Regions from separate parts of the Homo sapiens genome. Here regions 1 and 3 are each linked to region 2. The links are contacts of gene promoters, found by promoter capture Hi-C in blood cells and fetal thymus (Javierre and others, 2016). All regions are on one chromosome and are shown on one strand. Each heading gives the region's core, a stretch centred on a gene start or on the middle of the fragment in contact. The rest is flanking DNA. Distances are from core to core; before and after follow the strand shown.

Region 1 (3,790 bases), core at 1,176-3,675, 910 kb after region 2:
TTTAAACAGAAGTCGAATCTGATTTACATTTTAAAAAGATCCTTCTGGGTATGGTAGCAAGAATGGACTGAGGAGCTAGAGAGGATGGAGACTGGATGAGGATGGTAGGGATGCAGCTGGAAAGAGGGACTGATACTGGGTCCCTCTGGAAGGCCCATTGTTGGGGTATACTAAGAAGGATGAGGAAAAGAGAAATCAAGAACTGGGTCATGAGCTTGAGCTCATGGGTAGACAGTGCTGCCAATTCTTGAGAGGGAATTAAGAAGGGGAGAAGAAGGGTTCTCCTTGTTAAATTCAGATGCTTGTTTGACATTCAAGTAGGCACTTAGATATATAAAATCTGGAGATAAAATATAAATTGGGGAATTACATACAGATGTACCTCATTCTGTTTTTTTTTTTTTTTCTTGAGACAGAGTCTTGCTCTGGAGTTCTACTTGTTAAATTTCAGATGCTTGTTTGACATTCAAGTGGGCACTTAGATATATAAATCTGGAGATAAAATATAAATTGGGGAATTACATACAGATCTACCTCATGCTGTTTTTTTTTTTTTTCCTTCTTGAGATAGAGTCTTGTTCTCTCGCCCAGGCTGGAGTGCAGTGGTGTGATCTTGGCTCACTCTGCCTCCCGGGTTCAAGCGATTCTCTAGCCTCAGCCTCCCGAGTAGCTGAGATTACAGGTGTGTGCCACCACGCCCGGCTAATTTTTGTATTTTTAGTACAGACGGGTTTCACCATGTTGCTCAAGCTGGTCTTGAATTCCTGAGCTCAAAATGATCCGCCCACCTTGGCCTCCCAAAGTTCTGGGAATACAGGCGGGAGCCACTTCCCCCTACCTCATTCTGTTTTAAAATCTTCATAGCCTTGTGCCTTACTGATATATCATCAGCCGTATAACAAATAGCTCCATCCAATGATAAACTAGGTGGATCCCAGTTTATAAAAAAATTATTACTACCTGTATTTCAAGCAATGTACAACTAAAATTTCTATACAATATCTTAGTGCCATTTGCGCACTATAACTTCAAGTTCAGTTCTAAAAGTAGAATTGCTGAGACTAAGAATATGTGCATTTTACATTTTTTTGCACTTTACATTTTGATAAAAATCTTTAGAAGTATTTGCATCCATCTATGCTTGCAGCAACTCTGATGCTTACATTCAGGCTAACACTTTCTGGTTTTGCAGATCTAGTTGTGAAAAATGGTATCTTATTATTTCAATTTACATTTCTTAGGAGTGGGATTGGGTTTCTTCATATCTGCTAGCCATCTACCTTTGTTCTTCATGCATTCATTGATTTGATTTTGAAGTTTGTCCAGAGATTCCCTGTGTCCCCACAGGCGCCATTCGGGGTTCCTGTGCTAAGGCATGGACAAGGTGGTGAGCTCTCTGCTGGCAGGGACCTGGCGCTCTCATCCTGTGTCCTTAGCACCCGGCAGAGGTCCAAGAGGGCTCCTGGTCTGGGCTGGGAAGGTGACCAACACGGCGTTGGGGGTTGAGGTGGGGGTTGGGGAACTGGGGTAGGTTGTGCAGAGGAAAAGGCCCAGGTGAGCGGTGGGGGAAGGGGAAGAAGTCTGGACAGATAATAAGGGCGTAGGAAAGACATCCAGATTTCACTGAGTGCAGGGCTTTTTAAAACTGATGTTAGAAAAACTTGATTTGCTGTTGTAAAAAACCATCTGTGTGAAGTAGAAATTGATATCAATAACATGATAGAGAATACGTTCTAAAAAGTAAAGGTAGCTGGATGTAAAATTCTGGCAGAAGTTTAATATCCTAGATGGTTAGTTTGAGGCCAGCAACTAATGAGGATAAAAGCCTTCTCCATGGAAAATTTTGGACAGTTATCTGGAGAAATATTACAGTGCGCATCAACCAAATTGAAATGTTTTCAAAAGTGTTGTAAAGTTTCATGTAGTAAAAAGGTTTTAGCCACATGCCCTTCAATTTCATGGCATCGAATATATAAACACAGAAGAGAGCATGCATGCAAGATATTTAACTCCCTTACATGATAATGCATGCGATTCAAAACTATCATGACATCTAGGGCTCTCTGCAACTACGAGATGATTGATGTTAGGAAAAGCGTAGCCCCCCAGTATCAACACAGGAAGCGGCCACCACCTACTATGTGTTTTCCCTTTTTGCGTTTTTTCTTTTTTTAAATCAACTCTGCCGTTGTTGCTGCTGCTTAGCAAAACGGGTAAAAACAAAATTGCAATCACTGATGCATCACCCAGAGAATTCCCAAATTTCCTGTCGAGGAATCCTCTCGGCCTCTCTCCAGAGTGCTTCCACAAGTTGCAAAACTACGGAGGGCGTCTGGGCAGGCGCTGGCAACAGCACTCCTGAGTCCGAGCTCCCACTCAGAGGCCACGAGGTCGCAGAACAGCCGGATCGGGTGGAAGGACCGCCCTTTTCTTCGTAGCCTCCAAGGGAGCTGGAACAAAAAACGAAACCAAAACCTGCCTGCTCGCTCCTCTCCCCATCGCCTGCGTTCCGCTGGTTGTGGGCTTTCTGCGGCCGCTGAGGGCGCGTCTCCCCTCCGCCATGGCAAGTTGCTTTTGCTTTGGGTTTTGCGGTGCAGGTCCGTGCCTGTACCGTCGCCATGGTCCCCTAGAAGGGCGCGGAACCGGGCGCGACGGGCCAGGGTGCAGGGCTGCGCGGGAGGGGGCGGCGCACGGAGGGGCCCCAGGGACCCCGGGGGCCCCGGAGAGCCGTCCACCCCGGCGGGCAAACTCAGGTCAGCCTCGCTGCACCCTTCCCAGGTGGCGGCATTGCGCGCTCCTGAAATTCACGTACGGCGGTGCAGTATAGGCCCGCTCCAGAGGCTCAGGACTAGGCTGTCACCTCCCACACCCACTGCCCAGGCGACGGGGACGCCGCCGTTCGTCGAGGAGCTGCTTCGCAGGCTGTTAGGGCTTAACTGTTGTCCTCCCACGCCTCGGGGGGAACAAAAGTGGCCTGATTAGCCAGAAATGGAGGTCACAGCTGCCTTTTGAAAAGGGCTAATAAGAACGATTCGAGCCAAGGACGCAAGTCAGGAAGACATCCTCATGTCTTATGTCTGCCTTGGTGCGAATTCTTGTCTTAGCAAATTCAAAATTTATCCTTCTGTGTTTTGTTTTGTTTCCATCAATCGCTTAAAAGCCTTGGCAAGGCCTTTAATTCCTGCTCTGAAATGCTAGAGTCCCGGAAATGCAAAAGCAAGTACGTTTTTGTTGACCTGGTGGCGGTAGAGGCGTCGTCATTGAAAATAAACAACTGATTTTGAGAAAATCAATATAAACAAATGCAGTCAATGAATCTTCTGTTTCTTCCCAATGCCTTACTTACAAAAGTAAAGTTTTGCTATATACTTTTTGCTTTCTGATAAGATGGCCAAGTCTGTTATAACACAATACTGATGCAAGGAAATGCGCCATCACGTTAGTATGTCTTGGCTAAAAGCTGCTCGTTTCAAAGTCCTTGAAAGGACTGTCTTTCTCTAGGCATTTCTTTATCTTAATCGTGGGTAGAAGAGATGAACAACCCTCATTATTCATAATTGACCTCAGTAAAATTATCTATGTTAGCCATACTTTCTCCAACCTATGAAAGGGAGTTAAGGACAAATATTGGCAAGTCATTGAAGTACTAATTCATTAGATGATTCATAGAAACTAGTTCTTACCAAACAAAATTTACATCTTTATGTTTTTTTCTTCTAAAAATACTGGTTCAGGGAGAAGTTTCTTTGATTTTAAAGATAAATTACCAGTAGACATTCGAATAAAGAAA
Region 2 (3,885 bases), core at 714-3,213:
CAGAGATTTTGTCTATGGCCAGTTTTGGCCATTCTCCTGAGGCAGGAGAATGGTGTGAACCCAGGAGGCGGAGCTTGCAGTGAGCCCAAATCGCGCCACTGCACTCCAGTCTGGGTAACAGAGTGAGACTCCATCTCAAAAAAAATTTTTTTTTACTATTCTGCTACCCAATATCCTTAAATAATTATTGAGTGCCTTAATCAAAATAAAAAATTCCCAGCTTGCCCTTTAAAATTCTTGTCAATCTGTTTCCTCTTATACCTAGTCAGCCTTGTTTTCCATTCCAACACTAAGTCTTAGACAAAAAGTCTTTATCTGTCCAAAAAATCTCTAAGTCTTTTTTTTTTTTCTTTTTTCGAGACAGAGTCTTGCTCTGTTGCCCAGGCTGGAGTGCAGTTGCCTGATCTTGGCTCACTGTAACCTCTGCCTCCTGGGCTCAAGTGATTCTCGTGCCTCAGCCTCCCAAGAAGTTGGCATTACAGGCTTGCGCCACCATGCCTGGCTAATTTTTGTATTTTTAGTAGAGACGGTTTTTCGCCATGTTAGCCAGTCTGGTCTTGAACTCCTGGCCTCAAGCAGTCTGCCCGCCTTGGCCTCCCAAAGTGCTGGGATTACATGCGTGAGCCACCATGCCCGGCCTCCCAATTTATCTTGAACATCCCTAGGTTCAACGTTCTATGAAAAACAGCCCCTTCTGCACGATTCCTTCTCATTTGTGCCCCGAACTTTATAAAATGCAACCACCTTTCTGAATGTGTATGAGCTCTCTATAGCATCAGGTCTTTATACTAGAGTTTGTAAAATGGTTTTGATTAATCTATTATTTAAAATGTTGGAGTAATTCTCAACATTTAAACATCATTGAAAAATTGCAAACTCTAGTAGGACCCACATTTCAATAAATGGCTGCAATTTACCAGTAGTTGACATCTTTAGATACGCACTGTTCAGTTAGAAAGTTACAGCTTCATTCGAAAAGCATTGAGCGTCTATTACTTGGGACACTGTTTTAGACGCTGGGGATATAGTAGTGACCAAAACTTATCAGGGAGTTTATAATCTAATGAGGAGGAGAGACAGGCAACATAATCATTACTACAGTTTTCTAAGAGGAACAGAGAATATGTGGGTGGGAAGGGTGCTTGGGCTTTTGCATTCATTTAAATACCTGGCTGGATGCTGTTGGAATTTGAGTTTATGACTCGTACTACCATCCGAATCGTCATACACCATCATGTACGTTATGCACTGCCCCTATAAAACTCTCAACAAGTCTAAGGCAGGGAGTGTGCCTCCTTCGCCTTTGGATTCCGGGGGCCCAGCAGTGTTTTTATGGAGGGGACACGATGGAAAGCGAAAAGTTAGGCGTAGTTACTTCGACCACCGCTGTCCCGGGTGGTTATTCTGACGGGGTTTGGACTGGGCGCCTGGGAGGGTGCAACACAATAATTGTTGAAGAGCAGTCAGGTCTTTCGCAGAATCTCAAAGCCACCTCCGCGCCGGCAGCTCCGTTTCTAGGGAAACAGGACTGTAACGCGTACGCGTCGTGGGTCCTCGTTCTCTAGCTACGAGTCCTGCCGCTCTGAAACAAACTAAATTCGTGACAAGAACTTGGCCCTCAGAGCCCGTCGTCCAACGCGAAAAACCACGGGTAACCGCGCCCCCTGCCGCGCCGCCGCTGGCACTGCAGCTTCCGGGGTCGTCCAGTTCCAGGCGGGACTACTTCCGGCTCCGAAGGTCCCCGGCTTCGTGGCTAGCCGGGGTCCTAGCGCTGGAAAGGTGGCCGTAGCGGCCGCCTGACCCCTACAAAAGTCTGGGACAGGGGCAGCGACAAAGGCCTTGGGAGGACGCCCATGGTCGGAGGGATCTCGCCCCGGGAGAAAAGTTGGGACAGGAGCGCGGGATCGAAGGGTGGACTCCGAGCCGGCCTGTCAGGCAAGAGCCGGGCAGGTGCGGTGGCGGAAGTGCAGGGACGGAGGCCGAAGCGGAGCGGTCTAGGGAGCCGCGGCCGCGGGTCACCCGGCGGGTAGCAGTTGCTGAGTGTCAGCTAGACAGCAGCGACTAGGGCTCGGGCGCCGGCGAGATGCCTTTGTTCACCGCCAACCCCTTCGAGCAAGACGTGGGTGAGTGCTGTGCCCGGTCCTGGACTGCTGTGTGCCTGGCCCTGGACTGCTGTTTGTCCGGCTAGAAAGTGGGCGGTAGCGACTCCGGGGACTAGGAAGCAAAGCGAAGGGAGGGGAGGGGCGGTGCCGCCCGCTCCTTCGACGTTGGGATTTTTCTGGGGCAACCTCGGCGCGTCGCTAGCGGTCTGGGGAGTGCTTCCTGCCGCCTGAGTTTGGGGACCCTCAAAGGGCCGTTCTCCTTGCCAAGCGTAGGATTTGGGAAGAGCCTAGGGCTCGCTGGAGACTGGACTGATTAAGTAGTTGTGGAGTTGGTGATTAAAAACTTCCTGCTCGTTCGACAGCTGGTTACCTCCGTCTTTGCCCCATCGTTTTCTGAAGATGATGCAGCAGTGGAGACCCTGCTGTCTAGAGAAGCCCAACACTAGACACTTGACACCTAGACAACCGCATTGAATAGGAAGAACTTACTTCCCCATTATTTATATTACTCATGCATTCAATCCCTGATAGGGTAGCTTTAAGATTTATTACAATTGTAAAGGTGTTGCTCTTCATCCCCGGATTGCAAAGATTGCGCGGGTGCTAGGAGATGTTCGGTTTTAGAGTATGAAAAGGAAATCTCCAGTCTCAAAACACTCCAGAACAACAAGTATTTTACATGTTGCAGTCATAAAGCGCTGGTCTCTCAGTGACTATAGAATGAGAAAAACATGGATAAGATATATACGAAATTATTTAGGAAATTTGAGTAACACTAAAACAAACTGAGAAATATATGTATGTATTCTCGAAAGTCTGGGTCTCACTATGTTGCCCAGGTGCGACTAGAATTCCTCCCACCTCAGCCTCCACCTCCGTTTCCCCTTCCCGAGTAGCTGGGACTACAGGTTTGTTTTTTGTTTGTTTTTGTAGCAGTAGTTAACAGAACCCTAGGTAAATTTTTAGAACTTGGAAATGGGGTTGGGGCGGGGAGACTCAGAAGAATACTGCACATCTCAGCAGTAATTCCCCTGTTTCATAGTTAACATTTGGTTATTAGGAGACTGTAGAAAGTGCCCTATTCTGATACGTTGTGTAATCCCCTAAGCCATTTTAAAAAACATGTTTGAGTCAAATAATATATGTAAATAGTTCAAATATGTATGTTCCTTACTTCATTAAACTTTTTTTTTGGTGGATGAATACAGGTGACTGGCGTAAATCTGGGAAACATCACTCTTAAGGCTCACTGTTTCCTTTTGGAACGCCTCATTGCAGTATTCTTTTGTTTGAATCATACAACCTTTGTGCAACCTGTACTTTTAAAAAATTGCTATTATGAACACTTTGATTCTGTTCTAATGAAATAAAACAGAAGGCGCAAAATAGAATTAGACAAATGATTTTAAAACTTAAAAACCGTGAATTCTTTTCTTCAATATAAATTTTTCTTGAAAGTTCATTGTTTTCTGATGGAAAAATTCTCTGGTACAAGTAGGCAGAGTTGCTCTGTCTGTTCTGTTCTAAACCTTTCCCTGCCTGGCTCCCGAGGCCCCAGCATTGGTTTAGTGGATCACAGTTTAGTCCTACAGTTGTAAAGGAGGCACTGCTGTTGAGATTAAAAAAACAAACAAACAAAAAAACTGTGTCTAGATTATTTTATGGCCAGTGCCATAAGCCAGAGCTTCAAGTAGTTACATATTAGCTTAAGCATGACTGAATTCAGAACCCCAAAGGCATTTTAAGGGTGAAAGAATGAATTTGAGGCCCTCCTGTAACTTCT
Region 3 (4,061 bases), core at 1,301-3,800, 570 kb before region 2:
TGGGGTGAGAGAGGATAGCAGGAGGTTAGTTAACGGATACAAAATTACGATCAGATAGGAGGAATGACTTCTAGTGTTCTATAGCACTTTAGGGTAAATATGGTTAACAGTAACTTATTGCGTATTTTCAGAAAGCTTTAAGAGAAGATTTTGAATGCTCACAATACAAAGAAATGATAAATGTTTTCAGTGATGGATATGCTAATTAGCCTGATTTGATCATTACACATTGTATGGGACTATCATTCATTCTGTATTCCACTAATGAATATGATTATTATGTGTCAACTAAAAATAAAAAAAAAGTCAAACGTGGGAAACTTGATCAGATAAAAATTAAAAAATTTCCATTCAAGTAAAACTACAGCATTATTTATTATTAATACTGCCAAACTTCAAAAGTGGGTAGTAGATAAAACTGCATTACTGAATGAGGTAAAAGAAAAAAACAAGAAAAAAAATCCCACGGTTTCATGGCAACATCATAGAAATGTTTCACTTTGAAGACCTTCCATTTTACTTCAAAATTTACAAGGCTTATATATTTTTGAAAATGGCATGACTATTTGTGGAGATGTTACTACAATTATTATTTGCATATACGAATGTGACAGGTTAAAACAAATTCACAAAGAAATTCTAAGTTGCTGACATTCTCTCCATGTACTTAAATACATTGCACAGATGAATTTTCCTAAAACATTCCTTTGCTTTAAAATGCTTTTGTGTTAACTGGATATAAAATGTAAACGAGCAGAGCACACAATATTATTAACAAGGTTAAGTTTCCTTAATGATACAAGCTTTAACCCAGGTTTTAAAAGGTACAGCAATGGACTGACAGACAAAAGAGGTACATTGTGTAAAGGGAAAGAAAAGAACCAGAAGTGGAACTCCAACTTAAGATTTCATGCTTCTCAGGAGAAAAACTGGACCAGATGAACCTAAGGTCGCTTCTATTTCCTTCCATTTCCTTCCTTCCGCCCTCCCTCCCTTCCTTTCTCTCTCTCTCTCTCTTTTTTTTTTTTTTTGGACAGAGTCTTGCTCTGTCACCTGGTCTGGAGTGCAGTGGTGTGATCTTGGCTCACTGCAACCTCCGCCTTTCAGGTTCAAACGATTCTCATGCCTCAGCCTTCCAAGTAGCTGGGGTCACAAACACACGTGTCACCATGCCCAGCTAATTTTTGTATTTTTAGTAGAGATGGGGTTTCACCATGTTGGCCAGGCTGGTCTGGAACTCCTAACCTCAGGTGATCCACCCAGCACTCCCAAAGTGCTGGGATACAGGCGTGAGCCACTGCGCTCGGTCTCAGTTCTACATTTCTGTAAGTATCCCAGGTAGCAAGAAATAATCCTAAAAAACACCTCAAAAAGATTATGTACAGTTTTTTACCTATTAAAACAGGTTATTGGTCAACATTACCTGTACTTAAAACTAGAACAATGATGCAGAGGATATAAATATTTTAGTCCCAAAGAGTCAATTAAGGAGACCTATCTATGATGAAAATTAATGGATATAATTTAACCTGCTAAATCAACATTGTTAAGATGTGACTCTTCATTTGACCATATGAAAGAATAAGTAGTAAAATAGAGTACCCAATGGCAAAACCAGAACGTTTCTTTAGATCTACTTCCATATCCTGAAAGATAAGCTATATAGAAGGTATGACCTTTTTCTGGTTCTAGAGAATTCCTTTCAATAATAAAAAATTCTACAATGAAGTACTTATGTAGTCCCTGATAGTGGTTAAGAGTTCAAGCTCTATGATTAGATAAACACGGGTCTGAGTGCCAGCCTTGCCTCTTACAAGGGGTATGAAGATGGCAACATTGTTTGACCTCTTTGACCTTCAATTTTCTTCTCCATACAATGGAAACAAAAATAGAATCTACCCTTACAAAGCTGTTGTGAATACCAGGTGTCTGGCACATAGTAAATGATCAATACATCTTAGCTATATAGTAAAGAAACTTAGGTACAGAAGAGATTTTTAAAAATTCTTCTGACCATCTACTTAGATTCTCCCTTCCAAGTAAAACACCTAAACCTAAGCTTGCTTTAAAACCAAAACAAAGAAACAAACAATAGTAGTATAAAAGCAAACCCAAGAAGTAGATGGAAGAAAGAAATGGGAGAATTAAAGGTCTCTCTCGCGTGCGTGCGTGTGTGTGTGTGTGTGTGTGTTTTTGTGTGTGTGTTTCTGCTTGATATTACCCTCTTCCTACATAACGACTTCTTTTATAATTCACTGGAGAACCCAGACTTCCATTATTTATATCTAGACTTTGTTCTGTGAAAATATAATGTCTAGCAATATATTTAGATTACTATTAAATAGTAACTTGCAAAGTGAATATATTATAAAAGAATTATAATTATTTTCATTTTTCAGGAATGGAATACATTTAAAATATAAGATTCAAATGAATTCAATGACTTTGGCAATTTAAGTGACTACATTCTTATATTTTGAAGCATAAATTAAAGCACTGAATAAGCAACTTCCAAAAATTCCAAATAAATTACCTTAAAAAGAAAAAGTTAGAGACAGAATAACAGAACTGAGCAGGTCTCTTGTCATGTTTCAGGTTGTTTATTGTTTTTATGCTAGTTTTGGTTGATCTGAACTGAATCTCTATACTACAATACTAAACACCAGACTCCACTCTGTTAGAATAATTGTTCCATGCCATATTTATTCCTGTATTTTCTTTCCCACACAGGTATTCCCACATGTCAGAGATGCTTTTATGACAGAACTCTTGTAATTTAAAATAATAACTTCATTTCCAGCTGATACTGCTTTAAGCAGAAAGCGCTCTGTGCTTGCCAGAATAAGAAGATATGTTAAAGGCCCATCTTAAGACCCAACTGGCTATTCGTTTCTGTGTCTGATTGGCTCAGAGGGAGAAGGGATGAGCAAGATGGTACTAATCTATTCCCCTTTCACACATCTGAGCTGCCTTTGTTTTCTCATTCTATCCCTAGCCCAGGAATCTCCAATTGCTAAAAGTTTTTAAGCTGTATAAGCTTTGTTTGGAGTTACTATCAGTTAGTTCTTTATCTGGAATCAAAAGATCTTAACACTAAACCTGAAACTTGGAAAACAAAACAAAACAAAAAAACAAGCAACACCGTATTTTATTAACTTAAAAAGCATTTCCTTTTTAGAAACGTAAAACTACATTAACTTTATTATATCCTTTTGTCCTAAAAATTACTTGTTAGAAATTGCTGAAGAGCAGACAAAGTTGATTTCAATGAACTTGACCATTGTTATTTAAGAAATCAGGGTTAGAATTTTAAAGAGAATGCTTCCCTAATTTCACTTCTTTGCTATGTCTCTCCTTAAGGAAAAAATAACACACATGACTTTGCCTCTTACTTTTTACTCTAAAGTTCTTTATAACTTTCTCAATTCCCTTTTCATTCACCAAGATTTACAGAATACTCGGTATCAGGTATTAAATTACATACAGGAGATAGAGAAATTAGTAGGGCTGGATGCGGTGACTCATGCCAGTAATCCCAACACTTTGGAAGGCTGAGGCAGGAGGATGGCTTGAGGTCAGGGATTCCAGACCAGCCTGAGCATATAGGGAGACATTGTTTCTACAAAAAAAATTTTGGCCAGGCATGGTGGCTCACGCCTGCAATCCTAGCACTTTGGGAGGCCAAGGCGGGTGGATCACTTGAAGCCAGGAGTTTGAGACCAGCCTGGCCAACATGGTGAAACCCCATCTCTACTAAAAATACAAAAACTTAGTTGGGTGTGGTGGCCTGTAATCCTAGCTCCTCTGGAGGCTGAGGCAGGAGAATTGCTTGAACCCAGCGGGTGGAGGTTGCAGTGAGCCAAGATCATGCCACTGCACTCCAGCCTGGGTGACAGAGTGAGACTATCTCAAACCAACAAAAAAAGGAAAAAAAAAAAGAGAGAGAAATGAGTAAGGAGTCAGTACTGCCTTCGAAGATAACAGAATCTTGTGACGTAGTAGATTGTTTTGCAGGCAGTATTACTGGAACATAAAGGAGCCATTCAGCTTGTAGAAGGGGA

Evidence for each region. The method cuts DNA at HindIII sites, captures the fragments that hold promoters and counts their contacts. A CHiCAGO score of 5 or more calls a contact.
Region 1: the fragment with the promoter of RBM43 here is called in contact with the fragment with the promoter of STAM2 in region 2 in 1 of 17 cell types (non-activated CD4 T cells); the score reaches 5.2 in non-activated CD4 T cells.
Region 3: a contact is called between a fragment that was not itself captured here and the fragment with the promoter of STAM2 in region 2, in 8 of 17 cell types (non-activated CD4 T cells, total CD4 T cells, neutrophils and 5 more). The highest score is 9.3, in non-activated CD4 T cells.

What each region holds. Positions count from the first base shown.
Region 1 is chr2:151,260,498-151,264,287 of GRCh38, reverse strand. RBM43 (RNA binding motif protein 43) reads left to right here and starts at 2,425. Exons shown (of 4, transcript NM_198557.3): 1 at 2,425-2,563. The coding sequence starts at 2,561. RefSeq lists an enhancer at 2,342-2,571 and a silencer at 2,612-2,881. The HindIII fragment of the contact is 8,034 bases long and covers 1-3,790 here.
Region 2 is chr2:152,173,841-152,177,725 of GRCh38, reverse strand. It overlaps STAM2 (signal transducing adaptor molecule 2), which reads left to right and starts at 1,963. Exons shown (of 14, transcript NM_005843.6): 1 at 1,963-2,123. The coding sequence starts at 2,084. It overlaps LOC105373689 (a long non-coding RNA gene), which reads right to left and starts at 2,193. Exons shown (of 3, transcript XR_923477.3): 1 at 1,169-2,193. RefSeq lists enhancers at 1,606-2,025, 1,502-2,025, 2,186-2,325, 2,376-2,425. The HindIII fragment of the contact is 5,938 bases long and covers 1-3,885 here.
Region 3 is chr2:152,747,445-152,751,505 of GRCh38, reverse strand. The region is part of intron 3 of ARL6IP6 (ARF like GTPase 6 interacting protein 6); the gene reads right to left. Among named protein-coding and RNA genes, the nearest start is that of ARL6IP6, 31 kb to the right of the region's middle. The HindIII fragment of the contact is 978 bases long and covers 2,062-3,039 here.